Regions from separate parts of the Homo sapiens genome. Here region 2 is linked to region 1. Evidence: promoter capture Hi-C in 16 types of primary human blood cells and fetal thymus (Javierre and others, 2016). All regions are on one chromosome and are shown on one strand. The core of a region is centred on a gene start or on the middle of the fragment in contact, and the rest is flanking DNA. Distances in the headings are between cores, read along the strand shown.

What was found. The method cuts DNA at HindIII sites, captures the fragments that hold promoters and counts their contacts. A CHiCAGO score of 5 or more calls a contact.
Region 2: a contact is called between a fragment that was not itself captured here and the fragment with the promoter of TXNRD3 in region 1, in 1 of 17 cell types (megakaryocytes). The highest score is 6.4, in megakaryocytes.

The regions. Positions count from the first base shown.
Region 1 is chr3:126,653,777-126,656,484 of GRCh38, forward strand. It overlaps TXNRD3 (thioredoxin reductase 3), which reads right to left and starts at 1,348. Exons shown (of 16, transcript NM_052883.3): 1 at 972-1,348. The coding sequence starts at 1,214. The HindIII fragment of the contact is 4,771 bases long and covers 314-2,708 here.
Region 2 is chr3:126,495,981-126,498,688 of GRCh38, forward strand. UROC1 (urocanate hydratase 1) reads right to left here. Exons shown (of 20, transcript NM_144639.3): 14 at 2,071-2,192; 15 at 58-128. Among named protein-coding and RNA genes, the nearest start is that of UROC1, 20 kb to the right of the region's middle. RefSeq lists an enhancer at 1,522-2,399. The HindIII fragment of the contact is 1,222 bases long and covers 778-1,999 here.

The DNA.
Region 1 (2,708 bases), core at 98-2,597:
TAAGACCAAAATACCAAAAACAGCAGAATGATAAACTCCGGTACGATTCATCCCAGGGAATAGTCAGCAACGAAAATTAATGAACCCCAGCTACAGATACTAACATGCATGAATCTCTGAAACATAACTGTTGAGGAAGAAAACTGCAGAAGAATACCTATGTATGTATGGTTCTATTTATATCAAGTCCCAAAACAGGCCAAAAGGAACCAAATATTGATGAATAATATATATATTTGGTAAAAATGTAAAAAAAAAAAAAGGAAATTTTGCATAGTGGTTAACCCTGAGGGAGGGAGGAGACAGCCAAGGAAGCTTCTACAGTACTAGTGTCACTTTATTATTCTTAAAAATATATATGCATAATATATGTTTTAAGAAACTATACACATCAATGTAAACTTCAAATATATTTGAAAAACACAGCCTATAATTTCATGAACTCAACCCAATAGTTTATGCTTTTGCATACTGTCTTCCACGTATCATTTTTCAACTTTCTGTAAAATGAAGTAAATTCCTAAACGTTGAAAGTCTGTACCTTACACGTAGGTTATCACCCAAAGGCTCGTTTCTAAGTGAAGTATTCTTAAACACAGAATACATTTGTCCTTAGAAATAATGCCGGATTCCTAGTCCGCCCCGAAAAGTTAAGGCAGTGTGCATGAAGCTGAAATTACCTCAGTCGTCCTAACAACCTTCCCGTACCTTCGTTTCACAAACGGGGGAACTGAGGCTCTGCACAGGGTCCTAACCCGGGTCGAGGTCACGCAATTAGGAGAGTTTCTGTTTTGATAAACTATCACAAGCCCACCTCAGGGGACGACCGGGGAGAGGAGAGGACGGACGGCTGACCTCACCGCCGCAGCCCGGGACCCGCGGGCGCCCCGGCCCGGACCCGCCCTGCCCCGGGTGGCGTCCGCGTGGCGGGCCCGGTCGCGCGCGGTGGAACCGGCGAGGGCCGCGCCTACCCGAGTACTATGGGGACAGTAGCTCTTGCTGAAGATCACCACCCGGCTGCGCTCGATGAGGCCCACGAGGTGGCGGCGCAGCTCCTCGCGGGCCTCGGACGAGCGGCTGGGCCCGGGGGACGACAGGCGGGCACGGCGCCCCGGCGGCGACAACACGCGCGCCCCTCGGACATGGCCCGAGCGGCGGTTGGGGGCATCGCCCGCCTTTCCCGGCCCGGGCGACTGCGGCGGCGACCGCTCCAGAGTCTCGCTCTCGCTCCTGGCCCGGCCGGGCCTGCTCACAAACCGAAACGCAGGCGGCTGCGGCGCCGGGACGGGGCCTGAGGGGCGGCGAACGCTGCCCTCGCTGGCCACTCTCACCACCCGCGCGAATCCGCGAGGCAGCCGCTCGCCCCGCCCCCCAACACCGCCCCGCGCATGCGAAATTGGGTCCCCCGCCCGCCCGCAGCCTAGGTGTCACCTGCCCTTCGCAAAGGGGCGGGTACCAAGCGCGAGCCTCTTTATCTCCAGGTTGTGCCTGCGTCCGGAGACCACCCAATCTTGGCGATGGCGCTCTGAGATGGCCTCTGTGCAATGCCTTTTACTCCTAATAATCCCCAACAGCCCCTTTAAACCACCTTAAAATATACGTTCTTCAATTTTTATGGGAAGTGTGAATTGGAAAGATTGATATTTTTAAAAGTTTAGATCACACAAGCTAAATAAATATATTGCGTTTGCTATTGCAATGCAGCTTTAATGAGTTTCCTAGGTTGCTACCCGTCAGTTCCCTTCTACATAGAATTCCAGAGCCGCCCCTAACAAAGGGACTCTGAAACCGCGAGAAGAGGAATCCTCTGTCCATTTCGGTGGATGAGTGGAAGACCTCGGAGCTGAACTTGCCTGCAGTGACTGAGTTAGCCGGTCATGGTGGCGGGTGCCTGTAGTCCCAGCTACTTGGGAGGCTGAGGCAGGAGAATGGCGTGAACCTGGGAGGCGGAGCTTGCAGTGAGCCGAGATGGCGCCACTGCACTCCAGCCTGGGCAACAGAGCGAGACTCCGTCTCAAAAAAAAAAAACAAAACCAAAAACAAAAACCTGGAGTTTCCTTCTTCTCAACAATTCTTTACATTTCAGTTAAGTCCTCTAGGCGGAACCCATGCAATAACCAGAGCAGGGGAAGGAGCCTAGTAGGTACTTTATGCTTTTTGTTAACCTGTGCACTCAGCGATGCTGGAGTGCCTGTCATGTGCCAGATACTGTGCTGGGCGCTGCGGATTTGGCAGAGAATGAGGCTGGCCGCCCTGCTCCTATGAGGTGTGGCTGCGTCTCTCCATCTCCTGGGTCCCATGAGGCACAACCAGTCATGGGGCCATTGTTCAGGTGAGGACACATGTCCAGGATGAGGGGGGAGTGTGTGGAAGCTACGGGCCTTGAAGTCAGGTGCATCCTCCTTTTCCCTGAGACTAATCTGTGGACATGACCCATGTCCCCAGCCGTCGCCCTCAGGGAGGTCGCAGGGCTGGCCGGGTCCCTGCGTGAAGTTTCATCTAGCACCCAATCACAGTGCCTGTGATTTTCACATTAGCTTGGGTCCTCCTCTTTGAGCCGTGAGGGGGAGTAATCAGGGGCACAGACCATGACACTCTTGCATGGCACAGCCTGGCCCATCACACAACATTGATGGGTCATTGACATGGGCAGCCTGAAGGAAACAGACATTGATGGGTCCAGTGACATTCAGAAATATCCACAGGGT
Region 2 (2,708 bases), core at 139-2,638, 160 kb before region 1:
TTGGGCAGTCTTCTGACAGCACAGCCACCCCAGCCTCCCCCAGGCCTGGGCCCTCACCAGCCGGTGCCTGGCGGCCTCCCGGATCCAGCGGATGTTGTCCATGTACTGCAGCTTCACAGACACCTTCACTGCAGGAGAGAGGACAGCAGGCGTCAGAGACCCTCCAGGGGCACAGACCTGCCCTCAGGCAGGCTGCTCAGCTCAGCACAGACCCTGCCCCGAGCCCACCACTGAGCTAGGACACAAGGTGAGGGAGCCCACCCCACCCCACCCCTGCCTTTGTGAACTTGGGGACCAGCAGTGCCAGTGGCCCCATGAATTAATAATGCACAGCCGTGCAGCGCACTGCCTGATGCACTCGGTCCCTCCACAAATAGCTATTCAGTGCCTACTATACACCAACACTGAGCAAGGCACCAGGAACAAAGACCGCTGTGGGCCGTGAGGAACACAGGACTGTGTTGAGGGCTCCCCAGGATGGTGGATGCGGGGGCTTTCTGAGGAAGTGGCCATCAAGCTGAGTCTAAAGGCTGGGAAGGAACCGGACAAGGAAGCTCTGAGGGAACAGCCTTCCAGGCAGAGGGAACAGTCAGTGCAAAGGCCCTGAGGTGAAAATAAACTTGGCCTATGCAGGAGCTACCTGGCCAAGCTCACGGAGTATGTGTGCATGTGAGAGGGCACAGGAGCCAGCCTGACCAGCTCGTGAAAGCAGACTGGTAATTTTCCAGAAATTGTGGGAGCCAGTGGTTAACATAAATATCATTAAAATTTTAAATAAGCTTACACTTTTACCAAATTATATTAAAATGAAGGTAATAGAAATCCCTCACTCCTGTGACTTCACAGCCTTCGACTAGAGTATCTGCCTGGTGGAGATGCCGCAGGGCATGTGCTGCGGGCATGTGGAGCTGGGTCAGCACGCCTGGAAACCAGCCAGGCCTGGAGTCTTTACTCCAGGGTCTTCGTGGGTGCAGCAGCTCAGGGCTTCTTTCCGGAGGGCTGGTCGTTCCCCACTGGCTGCCTGCTGTTCTCACACCAGGGAAGCCCAGGAGACATCTGACCAGACCCCCAGGAGAAGGCCCCTGCTTCCCCTGCCCTCCTGCCTGGGCCCCTGCCCGCCTCCTCCTCCACAGGTGACCACGTCTCCCCTCTGCCTGGCTCTCCTACTCTGAGTCTGTGTAACCTGGGCCCCTGCCCAGCCCACCGAACATGGCCAGCAGCAGGGTGTAAGGGCCCTAGAGATGTGAAGCACACAGCAGAGGCTGGTGAACCACACAGAAAAGCCACCCGACCTGCAGGAAAGCTGCAGAGAGACCGGGGTAAGAACTGCAACAACAGAGGAAGTGTCATAAAATAACCATGAAACAACAACGTCAGACCCACTCAACGAGAACAAAGGTTGGTTAAAACCCAGGCAGGCCATGTAGACATGGAAAAACACAACCCTCTGGCAGAACCAACACTCAGCATCAGCAAAACCCAGGATGAACATGGGGGACCCTGATGCAGAGGAGACCCTTGTGGACCTGGCAGGCGTGGAAGGCTGGCGGGAGCATGTGGAGACAGCTTCATCATGGAAGACAGCAAGAAGGAACTAGAAGCACTGCTGTCAGCACTGCCCTGGCCACGTGGAGGGGGAGGCTGGGTCTGAGAGGGACTGTGGTGTGCTGCGGGCTGCCCAGAAAGCCTGGCCCCGGCCACTGCTGCCTGGCCACCCTAGCCCTGGACCGTCCTGCTTCAGCCGCTTTGAGGGGCTTTCTGTCACTCGCAGCCAGAGGTCCTCACTGGCAGAGCCCAGGACAGCTCTGGAGGGCAGAGGCTTGGTGTGGGTGGGGCCTGTGCCTCCACGGCTGAGAACGACACTTGGGGACCAGGATCTTTGCAACTCACTCAAGTTTCTTTAAGTCCCTTTGTGTTGCCAGCTGAGCACCCACCAGACTCACAAAGTCATCTGCGCCCAGGTTCCCTCCCAGAATTAGCTAGGTGGGCCTGCTATAGAAGCTTGTCTCTATGGAGGCAGAAGCTTTGGGGGGGCCACCCACCCATGGGCATCCCCACCAATGGCGTCACCTCCATCAGCAATGGCTTCCTCCAGCACAGATGTGGCCAGTTCGTCTGTGACCGCCAGGTCCTGGGGGTCCCCCGATGTGCACACCCAGCGGAAAGGCCCAAATCCCTGGGAGAATATGTCCCTGCAAGCACAGATGCCTCCTCACCCTGGGCCCGCTGGCTTGTTGGGGGAGGGGGTGCAGGTGTGAGCATGCCAGGGAGGAGGGCTCAGCATCCAGAAGTCAGGTGTGGAACCCCCTAAGCTGTCATTGGACAGAAAGTTCCAGGGGCCTCCCTGTCCCCTCTCTGTGTCCCAGTGCCCCCAGCCCTCCATCCCTGCCTCCTGGCTGTACCATCTCTAGCTACAGGAGTGGGGAGCTGGGACCTGGGCAAACAGAAATGACCCCAATTGCTGTTACAGATGACAAGAAAATCCATCACCTAAAAGTGACAGTCACATTGAGAGGAGAGTCAACCTGGGGCTGTAGCCTTGGGGAACTCGCCCTAGGTGAGCTTATCTTCCCAGGAGCCAGGCTCCAGGACAGGGCTGTCCTGGGGGGAGGATGCCGTGGCCTGGGCCCTCCCTGGGCTCCTGCACTTGCTAGGCCAGGGGGTGCCTCCTCCTGGGCAGCCCTCCCTCTCCGGAGAGTGCCAGCTGA